5 separate regions of the Homo sapiens genome follow, and regions 2, 3, 4 and 5 are each linked to region 1. Evidence: promoter capture Hi-C in 16 types of primary human blood cells and fetal thymus (Javierre and others, 2016). All regions are on one chromosome and are shown on one strand. Each heading gives the region's core, a stretch centred on a gene start or on the middle of the fragment in contact. The rest is flanking DNA. Distances are from core to core; before and after follow the strand shown.

Region 1 (2,700 bases), core at 89-2,588:
TTAAAGCCAAATTAAACAGAAAGAAATGGAGAAAACTGCTGTTCAGGCACCAAAGCAGACCCCAAAGGATAAGCCATGGCTTTTCAACCGTAGCGAAAACCTGAATCATAAGGGTACCCCTCTCAAGACGCAGCTCTATCCATTTCCAGAAATTCTCTCAACAGGTCCGGATGCACTCCTGGTCACCCAGAGCAGCTCCTGACAGGAGTACTAATTCTGTGCTGCAGGGTAAGCCGAACAAAGTGCCTAGAAATGCCCCGGAGAAACAGCCCCGTGGCAGCGCGGATGCAATCCTACCTCTCACGCCGCACCTGAAGGCCCGCCAGGCAGACAGGCTTACTCCCAGAGCCCCGTGGCAGGCGAGCGTCGCGTCGGCCGCTCCTTCCAGACCCCGGCTCCTCTGTCCGGAAGGGCTCTCCTGGCAAAGCACCCGCAGCCGGGAGCCGCTCTTCGAACCCGGAGCCCGAGGTCCCGACGGCTGACCTGGACTCACAGCCTGCGCTGATCCTGGCCTGCGCTCTGCCCGGCAGCCTCCTCCACCCGCCTCCTCCGCCCGCCGACCGATTCAAATCCCCGACCCCGCCCCTCGGTACCGAATTTACTCTACGAATCACTCCGCCACCTCCCCCTTCTCCAGTCCGCGCACACTCCGAGCGCTCCCAGGCCTCTCCCTCGGCACTGGAGTGGCTTCCTGGGCTCGGAGAGGGACCACCGCGAGCTGCAGTCAACCCGAGGACTACAGACACCTGCCACTGCCTTGTGACCTCGGGGACTACTTTTCAGGAGAGTCTCGCGGAGTAACGCTTCTCTTAGCGCTTTAACTCCGCCTCCCACCTTTCTATTGGATGCTGCAAACTTCGAAAAGACTCATTCAACCAATCCTAACAGAGCGACGAGCTGGCTCTTACCCAATCAGTCCGTCCCTACCGCAGCCGTTTCCTAGCTGGGCCGGCTTGTGGGCGGGGCTAACGCTGGAGGAGGGGCTGACTGGTGCTTGGGTCCCTTTCAGCGCTCCACCTCCTTTCCCCAGACCCCGCCCTCGTATGCAGATAAGCGCTACCTAAACTAGAGGGTGCGCCTGCTCAGTAACGCTGGAAGCCGCCGTCCGGCTCCAGGAGCCTCTCTGATTGGCTGATGCCCCTTCCCGTCTACTAGCCTTCAGCGTCTCTTCCCTCCCTCCGTCCCGGCTAGGTTAGCCAGAGCCCGCCCGATACTGGGTGCTGATTGGCTGGACTCTGTCCGGTGACGCGGGTTGGTTGGTACGGCAGAGTGTCAGTCTCGGAGAGGTGGGGGAAGGGCCCCAGGCAGGCTGAGGAGCCTAGGGGCGGGGTGGGAAGGAGGACCGGCCGAACCTTGGGTGTGGGACAGAGTGCGTGCGTGTGGTGTGTCCCCAAGGGCAGGAAGGTGGCGAAGGGAGGCGAATCCGAGTGGGTGGAGGGAGGGGAAGGGCGGGAGGAGAAAAAGGTGGGAGGAGGACCAGGTGGGAGGGTGGCGGCTCACTCAGGACCCAGCGGGGGCAGCGCGATGAGGCGGGTGACCCTGTTCCTGAACGGCAGCCCCAAGAACGGAAAGGTAACGGGGGCGTGAGGGGGCGCGGCGGGCCGGGGGTCGGGGCGAGGGCGGACGGTGCGGAACCGGCTGGCGGGGCAGCGGTGAAGTTGGGTAGAGGGGCTGGGAGGTGGGCGTGCGCGGGCTGGGGGCGCTCGGGGACAGCACAGGGTCCCCGCGGCCTCCTCCCGACCCTCAGGACCCCCGTGCCCGAGCCTGCCCTTCAGTGCCTCAGCTGCCTGGGGGCCGGCGCGGTTCGGCCCGGGGGCTCCGGGTCTCCCGGATGCTTGGTGCGGGGGGCGCGGGGACGGGGGCGCGGGGAGGGCCGCGGTCACCTGGGCGCCCGGGCGGTCGCGCCTCTTCCCGCCTCTCCCCGAGACCCCGCTCCCGCCTGCGGGAGGAGGCGCGCCGGCTCCGGTGCTGAGTAATGATCTGCTCGGAAAGTGGCGGCGAGCACCAGAGCCTGTGGAGATGGGTCAGGGAGACAGAAGTAAACTGCCCGTGGATAAACAAAATCTCCCATCCGAGGTCGCAGACAGGATTTTTAAAATGGGGGCATTTTCTTGTTGATTTTTGCCCTCCTCTCTGAGATGCCTCAAGCCCCCACGCCCCGCCGCCGCCAAACTTCTCTGTACTCTTTTTATTATTTTGCCTTATTTTGATTCCCTAGAGGACGGGTACAGCAGACCCAAAAGGGATCGATTTGACAGTCGCCTTTGCTGTGTTAGGCCTTTGCGGAGAGTGTGGTGCTCAGTGTTCTTCCAGCGCTGGAGCAAGCCAAAACGAATTCTCTTCCTTCCCAGCCTTTTGCCCCACCCATGAAAGTTGTTCTGCTCCTTTGGGAAATTTTCACTGTTCGAGGCAGACATTTATTGCGTTGCTAAATGATACCTAGAAGTAACTCAGCCTTTACGAGTCTAAGGTAAAGGTAAATGGGTCTCGCTGTGTTGGTTGCCAAAATACTCTGCTGCCTGCACATTCGGGGAACACTGTAAATTTTTAAATAGTGAAATTGTCCAGTGGCATTAAAAATGGCTTTCCGATTATTCAGTGTAGAGTAAACATGCTCCGAAAATTCGAACCAGAGTGTGGTTTGTTGGCTATAATTTTATGTTCTTTTGGTCTTAGAGATTTAATACTCATTTAAAATCA
Region 2 (2,700 bases), core at 95-2,594, 5.3 Mb before region 1:
AGGTGATCTGCCCGCCTCGGCCTCCCGAAGTGCTGGGATTACAGGCATAAGCCACCATGCCCAGCCTCCGTCTCTAATTTGTAAGAAATTGAAAAAAAAAAAATTTGGGGGGAAAGAGAAGGGAGCAGCAGAGGGGATGGGTGAGCGAGAGCATGCCAGCTTTTCACCCCTGGCCTCCCCAGCTCTCACTGGAACTAAGTGTATGTGTATTTTTTGAGATAGGGTCTCATTCTGTTGCCCAAGCTGGAGTGCAGTGGTGCTATCTCGGCTCACTGTAGCCTTGACCTCCCAAGCTCAAGTGATTCTCCTGCCTCAGCCTCCCCAGTAGCTGGGACTACAGGCTTCACTATCACACCTGGCTAATTTTTGTATTTTTTCTAGAGACAGTGTTTCACCTTGTTGCCCAGGCTCATCTTGAACTCCTGGCCTCAAGCGATCCACCTGCCTTGGCCTCCCAAAGTGCTGGGATTATAGGCATGAGCCGCCACTCCCAGCCTAAATGTGCTTTTCGTTCCTTCCAAGTCAGAGGCGCTGAAGTCATGTCATGTTGCTGGCATGTAAATAGGCCTCTAAAAGCAGTGGAAATCCCTGGAGGCCTGTTCACAGGAGCTGGCAAAATAGGACAGTGGTATTTCAGGGTCATAGGCTTCCTTTCAACCAGTGCCCCAGGCCCCAAAGTGTGTTGTGCTGGGGCGCAGCTTCTCTGGCCCAACAAGGCCACAATTTTCCACCATCCTCTTCCTCTGGTTTCTGGCCCAGTGCTCTTCAATTTTAGGGAATGTGGAGATTCTGCTGCTGCCCCTTGAGTCAGTATCTTGGACAGGCTCAGAGCCTCTCTCTGGCTGGCACTGTAGGCCAAGATACTGATACAGTCCCCAAGAGCAGGGACTGTATCTGTTTAGTGCCTTACCTTGCATAATGCCTGGCACAAGTGAGTGCTTACTCAGTACCTCTGAATGAATGCCTGCAAGCTAAGACGACGTAGAAGCAAAAAAGGCAGAAACTTCTAAAAAAACAAACCAGAGTTATAGACACCAGGCACCAGTGAAAGCCCACCTTGGCGCTTAGAAGAAACATATTCCAAAAAAAGAATATGTTTTAAAATTAAACATATTTTTTAAAAACTTTTTTAAAAAACATATTTTTAAAATTAGAAAAAGAAGCCTTAAATAACTTTAAAGTAGCTTCAAATATACATGAGGAACAAACTGATGGTATGTGAGAGTAGTTTAGAACATTGAGTGCTTTATGACACCCTTGGATTGCTTTTGATGATTCTTGGGAAGCCAGAAATGGTGACTGGAAGACCAGCAGTATTTATGTAGCAGACAAATCATCTCTACCTTTGGGAAAATTGCTTTTGGAGTCTGTCCTAGTTGAAGCCACTTAGTGAACTTAAATGGTGAACTGCAGGGTATAAAGGTGTGGGTGGAAGGCACGGGGAAGCACGTTGCCTGCCAAATAACTGGAAAAGGCAGGTTGGATGAGAAAATCATTCCCATTATGGGGCTAGCATTGTTCTTCCCACAGAGTTTCGACCTCCTTTCTCTGCTCTTACCATTAGGAAACCCCTGCTGTGCGTCCTCCTTTCTTAGAAATGGCTTATTCTATTTATCCCAGTAATGTTGTCAGGTACTTGGGGGTTGAGAAGTAGCATATCCTCAGCTTGGCCAGATGAAAGGGCACTCTAGATAGAAAGCCATACGTTTATTATTATTATTTATTTTTAGAGGTAGGGTCTGGCTCTGTTACCTAGGCTGGAGTGCAGTGGTATGATCAGAGCTTATTGTAGCCTTCAACTCCTGGGCTCAAGAGATCCTTCCGCCTCAGCCTCCTGAATAGCTGGAACTACGGGCATGCACCACCAAACCCAACTAATTTTTTATTTTTTATTTTTTTACAGAGATGGGGTCTCAGGGTCTCACTGTGTTGCCCAGGCTGGTCCCTAACTCCTGGGCTCAAGCAATCATCTTTCTTTTCGGCCTCCCAAAGCGTGGGGATTACAGGCGTGAGCCACCACACCCAGCCCATAAATTATTCTAATTTTTAGTATGAAGTACTTGTGATACTCTGCCATGAAGGATGCAGTGCTGGCAGGAATAGTGGAATAATTGCTGCTTGTAAACATTTAAGATTCTCCTGTGGATTTTGGTGAGTGATCATTAAACTGTTTTCCAAAAGCATATACAGGCCAAGCGTGGTGGCTCATGCCTATAATCTCAGCACTTTGGGAGGCTGAGGCAGGAGAATCACTTGATCTCAGGAGTTCAAGACCAGCCTGGGCAATATACTGAGACCTTGTCTCTATTTTTATAAAGTATTTTTAATTTTTATTTAAAAAATAAAATAAAAAGCATATACAGGCCACGTATGGTAGCTCACACCTGTAATCTCAACACTTTGGGAGGCCGAGTTAGGAGGATTGCTTGAGCCCAGGAGTTTGAGACCAGCCTGGGCAACATAGTGAGACCCTGTCTCTATATTTTTAGAAAAATATTTTTTATTTTTTTTTAAAAAGTATATCCAGGCGTGATGGCTCACGCCTGTAATCCCAGCACTTTGGGATGCCAAGGCGGGTGGATCACTTGAGCTCAGGAGTTTAAGACCAGCCTGGGCAACATGGTGCGACTCTGTCTCTACTAAAAATACCAGGCATGGCGGTGAACGCCTGTGGTCCCAGCTACTCGGGGGCTGAGGAGG
Region 3 (2,700 bases), core at 196-2,695, 5.2 Mb before region 1:
ATACATTGCTTTTTCTTGATATTTAGTAGGAGCAAAGCTTTCTGGTTGATTTTTCAGGGTAAAATATTTTCCTATTGCATCATAAGGACATGTACCACTAAATAAAAAAGATCATATAAACCTACCTCTTGTCTGAGAGGATGCTGCTGAAGCGATGGTATCGTCTGTTTGTAATGCAGTCTAGTGCACAGCCAAGATGGAGCTGTGCTTCTATTGGTTGAACCACAATGGAGCTGACAGTTTCCTCTATGTTCATTTGCATTAAGTCTTGCCACCCTTAAGAGTAAATCATTCATAAACTTGAATAGAGCTGTCTGGGGTATCAACTGTCATCCCTTCTCCTTTATTTTTTTGTTCTTAAGCTAAATTCCTATATAGGAATTTGTGAGTTACTAACAAATTGATGATTCTTTAGTGTTTCATTATAAAATTTCAGATCCTTCAGTGAATACTTCAGTGCTAGGGCTGGAAGATAATGTCGGGAAAGGTAGTAACCTAGGAAACAAACAGTCCAGGTTTGCCAGCCTGATATTTCCTTCAGGAAGTGTGCATAAAATCTTATAAATTTTTCTTGTTCTTCCTTTTCTTTCATTACTTGTTCCGTATATAATTTTTGCACTCTGGAAGTGATTATTTCCATGTGGTGGTTTGATTTAGGAGGAATTATGAAGGAAAATAATTGGCTTTTAGCTCTGCAAGTTGGAAGAGGGCTCATTTAGGTAAATACACTACCTGCATTCAAAAAATAGTCTCTAAAATGTAAATGGCAAAGTGATCTCCAGGTTGGCTCTTTAGAGACAGAGTATTTTTAGTTACTGTGTATTATTTAGAGTTATGGTCTAAGCACAACAGAATGAAGGTTTTTAATTATGGGAGTGGCTGTTAACAACAGCAGCAGACCAGGTACATGCTATGTAGACTTCTTTTTTAAAATTATAGATGAAGGCTGGGAGCGGTGGCCCATGCCTGTAATCCCAGCACTTTGAGAGGCTGAGTTGGGTGGATCACAGGGTCAGGAGTTCAAGACCAGCCTGGCCAAGATGGTGAAACCCCATCTCTACTAAAGTACAAAAATTAGCCAGGCACGGTGGCAGTCTCCTGTAATCCCAGCTATTCAGGAGGTTGAGGCAGGAGAATTGCTTGAACCCGAATGGCAGAGGTTGCAGTGAGTTGAGATCACACCACTGCTCTCCAGCCTGGGCGACAGAGTGAGACTCCATCTCAAATAAAATAAAATAAAATAAATAAAATAAAATTATAGATGAATTGGTACATTAGTTTCTGGGGCCATAAAGGAATGCATAGAAATATCTGTATTATAGTCATTCATTCAACAAATATTTATTGAGTGTTTACTAAGCTTGACATTGAGTTAGTAGTAGATGCCAGAGACATAAGCATCATGTCTCATAAGCACAACTGTTTGTGATTCATAATTGGCCATTTGTGTGGTGTTTGTCCTTAACACATTGTCATCTCTTTTTTCATAGTCTTCCCAGTTGTTTATACAGTTGCGTGGGGTAAGCTTAATATTATTTTACTTAAACAAGCATTAAATGTGCAGTCACAGATTTCTGTACTTTGACAAAATGGCCAGTTTCAGATGGAATAATCTGTGTAAAGGCTGTTTATTACAGGGTTTACACTGGATTTGAATCTATACTCTGCTGCTTACTACCCTCAATTTTATTATATTTAAAAGGGGACAGTAATACTTCTTAAGTTGGATTTTTTGGGAGGGATTACGTATGAATATTTACCATAGTGTTTAGCAGATAATAAATATTGGTTACTTTTATTACAGATGTGCTGAACACCTTGGGAGAATGAACTACGTAGGTAATATTTCATAATTGAAACAGTGAATGGAAAAGCACCTATAAGGCATTCTTTTTTTTTTTTTTTTTAATTTTGAGACGGAGTCTCACTCTGTTGCCAGGCTGGAGTGCAGTGGCACTATCTCGGCTCACTGCAACCTCCAACTCTCTCGTTCAAGTGATTCTCCCAAGTAGCTGAGACTACAGGCACGTGCCATTATGCCCAGCTAATTTTTGTATTTTTGGTAGAGACGGGGTTTCACCATGTTGGCCAGGATGGTCTCGATTTCCTGACCTCATGATCTGCCCACCTGGGCTTCCCAACTGTAAGGCATTCTTAATGTTATTGTTACTTTTGGAAACATGGTAGACTTCAGTGTGCCAATTAATTAAGATTGTAACAAAGTTAGTTTTAAAGGAAAATTGCATATGAAGTTTCATTTTAGTCTCAAAAAAGGATACTCAATAAAGACTTCACTAATCTCAAAGGAGTATGGTATTGCCATCTAGAAGCTGTTCTTTTGGATCTCTGACAGTTGTTACATTTGACTTGTGGTTGTTCTAATGCAATCTTTTGTTTAAATTATTATTACCAACCTGGTGCCAGAGATTGGTTCTCCTCTCCCCTTTTACTTAACCTCTCTCTTTGTGGATCAGCCACATGGGAACTTTATAATATCTGATCTCATGCCTTGCTAATAGAATGTGTACTTCTAAAATGTTTTTCTAGTATTTATGATGGATTTTTTACTGTTCCTGGTTATGACTAATGGAATGCATTTGTGATGCAGTGGTGACATTAGGGTTTCTGCTTGTAAGAATGCAACAAAATGATAGATATTTTGAAACAAATGATCTTTTGTACAGGGTTTTCCACACCAGA
Region 4 (2,700 bases), core at 125-2,624, 5.2 Mb before region 1:
CTATCTATCTATCTATCTATCTATATACACACTGAATTCCCTGCCCCTTTTTCCCCTAACACCTCATCAGTTTCCTACCAATTGATGTTTGATTTCATCCTTTTGTAAATCTTCTGGGCCCTAATCAATTGTTATTCAAACAAAGTTACATTTCCTGTGGGTGTCAGATGATCAAGTAGGCTTATTACAAAATTCTCTAGAATGAAACTAATAAAAGTCACAAAATATTATCTTTTGACTTTTTTCCAAGTTTTGAATAAAATTTTAGGTATTTTCTCACTTAATTTTCACCACAGTCCAATGCAAGTAACTCATTGTAGTAGTACAATGATTATCCCCATTTCCCCGATGAGAAAACTGAGCCACAGTTTCAGTAACTTGAAGAGTAACCAGTAATTCAACGACAGCCACAGAATGGCTGAGCACTGGCTGTACTGCCGCTTTAGGTTATAAGAGTGAGGGAAGGCCTGCCACGCTGCAGGTTTCGGGCAATGAAATTATTTTTTCCACTGCTTTATTTCCACCCATTTATCTGGCTTCTAAATCCAAAATCCTTTTCTAAGACAGTTCACAGGGGTGGAGGGAAGAGGCTGGGCTGTGCTCCACATCAGGCTGCCTTTGCTAGCTGTGTTGTCTTGAGCAAGTCATTTATTAATTAGCTTCCTGGCCCTCTGTTCTTCGCTTGTAAAAGAGCTGGAACCGCGTTCTCGGTGTGCAGGTGCTGGTGTGTGGCGCTGGGGTAAACTCACAAAATAACCGTTGAGGCCGGGCGCGGTGGCTCACGCCTGTAATCCCAGCACTTTGGGAAGACGAGGCGGGCAAATCGCTTGAATTCAGGAGTTCGAGACCAGCCTGGGCAACATTGTGAGACCCTATTAATACAAACAACAACAACAATAATAACCAAAAATAGTCCGTCGTGGTGGCACTCGCCTGTGATCCCAGCTACTCCGGAGGCTGAGGTGGGAGAATGGCTTGAGCCCAGGAGCGGAGGTTGCAGTGAGCCGAGATCGCGCCACTGCCCTCCAGCCTGGGTGACCGAGTGAGATCACGTCTCTAATAAGAAAAAGACAAAAAACACAAAGTAACCATTGAAAGATAGCGTCGTCGGCTGGGTTCACCACATCCCAGCGCACGCCGGAGCAGGCTGTAGCAGTTTTAATAAAGTGTCTATAAAGAAAGCTGCCTTCCATCTTCAGTGGCGCCGCCTCCCACTTCAGTCCCCTTCTCGGCCCCACCCCAGCCCTTCCCTCGTTGTCATGGAGGCCCCAGGACGCCAGAGCGGGATAGTTCCGCTCCCGCGGCACCAGAGGCGGGGCACGCAATGACGCATGCGCTCGCTTGGCTGCCCTGGCGCCGCGGTGGCTGCCGGGACTGAGCTCCTAGCACCCGATCGGGAAGTGGCGGGCGGAGTCCCGGGTCCAGTCGCCGCCTCAGCTACCGCCGCTGCCGCCGCCGCCGCCGCCACCGCCAGTGGTGAGACCCCGACCTGGCGGGTCAGCGCTGGGCGTGCGTGCGGGCAGGCGGGGGCGCTGACGAGAAGCAGGAAGAGGGTGCAGTGCCGGCGTGGGCGGCCGGCCGAGGCGGAGGCGCAGGAAGGGGGCGGCGAGTCGTGCGAGGCTGCCCTTCTCACTCAGGTAGGGGCTGCGGCCGCCGGGTGTGGGGCGCAGAGCCCCGGCTTGCTGTTCCCTGGGACGCAGGCGCGCCGCCGCCTCCCGGGAGGCTGAGCGTGACCTCCACCTCACGGGAAGCTGGGACCGCCGTTCTCGAAGCGAAACACCCAGCACGCGAACCGTTCCCCGGAGCATTGTCTTTAGGCCAGAGGTTCATTGAGCAAACTTTTGGGTTGGAAAGAGGGAAAATTCGCGGTCTGCCGCCTGACTGTGCCTCTTCCAAGCCTCCAAGTTCACGGGCGCGGTAGCCAAGCGAACCGTGTGTGGAGTTTGAGCAGCCGCGGGGTCCAGCCAGCTCAAGACTGTGATTTAAAATGATGCTCATACGCGGACTGCTTTCTAGGCTACCTTTTGGAGATTTGGTTTGTGATGATCCCTAAACTTTAACGATAGTAGTTGATTTCTGCAGTCTAAACAACGCTGCGGCCCCCTTTTCGCCCACCTCCCCACTTCCGTCATTTAAGGGCGAAGCAGCCTGCTTTTCATAGCCGGGTCCTGAGGTGCCAGGGACACTAACGAGGCTGGGTAAAAGTGAAAGAGAGGGGAAGTAGTAAGGTTGAAAGAGGTCGAATGGTGGCAAGAATCGTGGGCTTGGAGGCAGATTTCAGTTTAATTTTTGGGTTTTCCGTGTCTGCCCACGGAGGAACCAGCCAACTCCTTGAGTTGTGGTTTTGTTTAATTGTAAAATGGACATGGTGATGTAGCCTGTTTACTCCATAGGGGGGTCCAGAGATCTAAAACTTAGTACACATATTGGGTAGTCTTTGAAAAAGGAGGAAAAGTTAGGCGGAGCACGTGATGGTGAAAGACAGACATTGCGAAGCTTTCTGCTCTAGATGCCTTTGAACGTTCCCGAACCTCACAGGTGGCCTTTGTTTTAAAGGCCTTTACCAGCGTTCCAGGTCTGGTGTAAGGAGCACTTGAGTTAGGAGTCAGGAGGTTTGGTTCCTGGCCCTGGCTCTTCCATCTGTGCGACCTTAACCAGACAGCTTCACTTCAGATTTCACGTATTAAAATAGGAATAACA
Region 5 (2,700 bases), core at 43-2,542, 5.3 Mb after region 1:
TCCACCTTATCTGTTAAATTAAGAAAACTGAATGATTTTTTTTAAGTGTTGGCAGGATTCGGGGCTAAGTGTCGCACCAGCTCATTTCTGATGACTTTGGAAATTGGCCAGACCTTCTGCAAAGCAACCTGGTATAGGTTAGGGATCATAAACTTGTTCACGCACTTTGATCCAATAATTTGATTCCATGATCTCAATGATATGATTATTAACCAAAGGAATAAATGTTTATAGCTTGTTATGGCAATGCTATTCATCAGAGTGAAAGTGAAATAGTAACCTAAATATCCCATAATAGTAAACTGCACCAGTAGTGTATATTTAATAGATACTGACATGAATATGATATATAGCTGGTGGAATTCAAGTATTTGAACTCTTTATACCAAATAATATTGAGTGAAAGCTTAGCACAGATATAGACCAGTTGCAGTAGTGTAGAACATGTTTGTACATTGGTAAAAAGCAGGAAATTGTGCATTGATGCCAATAATTGATGCTGCAATTTGGAGAGAAAAATCTTTTTCTCTTCTGAAATGTGTATTAAATATCCAAAAGTCACATATACTCACACAGAGAGAGTATCAGCTGGAGGTGGGGGGGCTTGCACAGTTTTAAGGGTAAGAGGTGCTAAAACAAACTAAATATGGCCCGAGAAGGACTCTGTACTTCTATATTTGAGTCCTTGTGGATGAACTGCAACCTAACTTAATAGGTAGACAAAATTGAAAACCTAACTAGGAGTTTGCGCCTGTAACAGTAGCTGAGTCTTGGCCCATCCCAGCAGTGGTACTTCAGCTACTCATACACTGCTGAGTGTTCAAACTGTGTTCAAATAAGGCAAACACTGAGCTGTAACCAATCTAGCTCTATCTGTGCTTCACTTCTGATTTCTGTAGGTCACTTCCCTTTTTTATCTATAAATTTGTTCTGACCACGAGGCATCCCTGGAGTCTCTCTGAATCTGCTGTGATTCTGGGGGCTGCCTGATTCACAAATCATTCACTGCTCAATTAAACACCTTTAAATTTAATTCAGCTGAAGTTTTTCTTCTATCAGGGGCTTGGGGCATGGACTCTGAGGTCAGACAGACTTAGTTTAAGTCCTGAGTTGATTAGTTCTATGACTTTGAACAAAATTTATTCTCTCTAATCCTCACTTTTCTAGTTTATAAAATGAGAATAATATTATCTTCATAAAATTATTGTATTAAAAGAGATAATGCAAAGTATTTGGCAAATAGCAAAGGCTAGATATGGCTTAGCTAACATTATTATTACATGCTTTGATTTATTGATTAACAGAATATTTATGTGTTAATTAATATGTGTCAGGCTCTTCTTTTTTTTTTTTTTTTTTTTAGACGTATTCTTGCTCTTGTCAGCCAGGGTGGAGTACAATGGCATGATCTCGGCTCACTGCCATCTGCGCCTCCTGGGTTCAAGCGATTTTCCTGCCTCAGCCTGCCGAGTAACTGGGATTACAGGTGCCTGCCACCACCCAGCTAATTTTTGTATTTTTAGTAGAGACGGGGTTTCACCATGTTGGCCAGGCTGGTCTTGAACTCCTGACCTCGCGATCCGCTCACCTCAGCCTCCCAAAGTGCTGGAATTACAGGTGTGAGCCACCATGCCTGGCTGTGTCAGGCTCTTTTCTAAGAAAGAAATGATATGGCTCCTGGACTAGTTGAGTAGTTTGTATTAAGCAGCGACTGTATCTTATCATTTTCTTGTCTTCTATCTAAAGTACCTAGCAAGGTAACTTACACATAGTACTTAGTAAATATCTATTAGATAAATGAAAATGTGTTGCTTTTTTCTTAAAAATGAACAGTTGTCCACCAATCTTATTCTTCCATACGGAGGGTTCCCCGCCCCCCGCCAAGGAAGAGTCATCCTACAGATATTGTATACTGGCTATTGTCCTCCTGTTATTTGCTGAAACCATATCCTTGTTTTACTTCCAAGGAATGCAAAAATCCCAGGAATTCCCCAGCAGTAGGGAATGTGGTCAAAACATGAGACTCAGAATCACCAGCCCAGTTTCAGTGCTGACTGTCTCCTTATGCACAGTGTAACCTTGGGCCAATCCTCAACTCCTTCTGTCTTTGAATCTCCATCTGTGAGTTGGGAAGATTTCATGTCATGCCGGCTTCTCAAGAATTTAAAAAGAAGCTTCCAGAAATCAACATCTTAGATAGAAAGGCAAACTCTTATTCTTTTATTACAAATGATTATTGGGGAAGAAAAATAGAGAAGAAAGGGGTAAGAAAATCTCATGCCAGTGACTGATTTTTTTCCAGATAATGTGTATCTCTCTTTATTTGCTGGAAAATTCTAATCAAGGAAAATACTATGAAGACAAACCACAACAGATTAAATAAACAGACCTATGTGTTTCTATGTAGCAAGGCATATACCAATATAAAATCATCAGTACAACATTTTCAGCATAAGATGGGAGAGGAAGCTAATTAATTATTTATATATTTTATTATTGGTTTTTTTTGCTTTTGTTTTTGTTTTTTTTGTTTGTTTTTTTCAGTCAGAGTCTTGCTCTGTCGCCCAGGCTGGAGTGCAGTGGCATGATCTCAGCTCACTGCAACCTCCACCTCCCGGGTTCAAGCGATTGTCATGCTTCAGTCTCCTTAGTAGCTGGGATTATAGGTGCCCACCACCACACCCAGCTAATTTTTGTATT

What was found. Contacts are between HindIII fragments. The CHiCAGO score rates a contact against its expected background, and 5 or more counts as called.
Region 2: a fragment that was not itself captured here is called in contact with the fragment with the promoter of KCTD9 in region 1 in 1 of 17 cell types (neutrophils); the score reaches 7.6 in neutrophils.
Region 3: a fragment that was not itself captured here is called in contact with the fragment with the promoter of KCTD9 in region 1 in 1 of 17 cell types (naive CD8 T cells); the score reaches 5.8 in naive CD8 T cells.
Region 4: the fragment with the promoter of GTF2E2 here is called in contact with the fragment with the promoter of KCTD9 in region 1 in 2 of 17 cell types (monocytes and total B cells); the score reaches 6.5 in monocytes.
Region 5: a contact is called between a fragment that was not itself captured here and the fragment with the promoter of KCTD9 in region 1, in 2 of 17 cell types (neutrophils and total CD4 T cells). The highest score is 6.3, in neutrophils.

The regions. Positions count from the first base shown.
Region 1 is chr8:25,457,071-25,459,770 of GRCh38, reverse strand. It overlaps KCTD9 (potassium channel tetramerization domain containing 9), which reads left to right and starts at 1,338. Exons shown (of 12, transcript NM_017634.4): 1 at 1,338-1,572. The coding sequence starts at 1,525. It overlaps CDCA2 (cell division cycle associated 2), which reads right to left and starts at 538. Exons shown (of 15, transcript NM_152562.4): 1 at 298-538. RefSeq lists enhancers at 640-869, 2,240-2,289 and silencers at 1,010-1,219, 1,580-1,629. The HindIII fragment of the contact is 4,823 bases long and covers 1-2,700 here.
Region 2 is chr8:30,714,322-30,717,021 of GRCh38, reverse strand. All of the region lies in intron 1 of GSR (glutathione-disulfide reductase), which reads left to right. Among named protein-coding and RNA genes, the nearest start is that of GSR, 12 kb to the left of the region's middle. The HindIII fragment of the contact is 3,607 bases long and covers 1-2,700 here.
Region 3 is chr8:30,636,065-30,638,764 of GRCh38, reverse strand. All of the region lies in intron 2 of GTF2E2 (general transcription factor IIE subunit 2), which reads left to right. It overlaps SMIM18 (small integral membrane protein 18), which reads right to left and starts at 185. Exons shown (of 3, transcript NM_001206847.2): 1 at 126-185. The HindIII fragment of the contact is 165 bases long and covers 1,363-1,527 here.
Region 4 is chr8:30,656,910-30,659,609 of GRCh38, reverse strand. It overlaps GTF2E2 (general transcription factor IIE subunit 2), which reads left to right and starts at 1,374. Exons shown (of 8, transcript NM_002095.6): 1 at 1,374-1,637. RefSeq lists enhancers at 831-1,502, 2,174-2,700 and silencers at 1,280-1,689, 1,700-1,789. The HindIII fragment of the contact is 11,766 bases long and covers 1-2,498 here.
Region 5 is chr8:20,191,461-20,194,160 of GRCh38, reverse strand. No RefSeq gene overlaps it. Among named protein-coding and RNA genes, the nearest start is that of ATP6V1B2, 4.6 kb to the left of the region's middle. The HindIII fragment of the contact is 1,768 bases long and covers 409-2,176 here.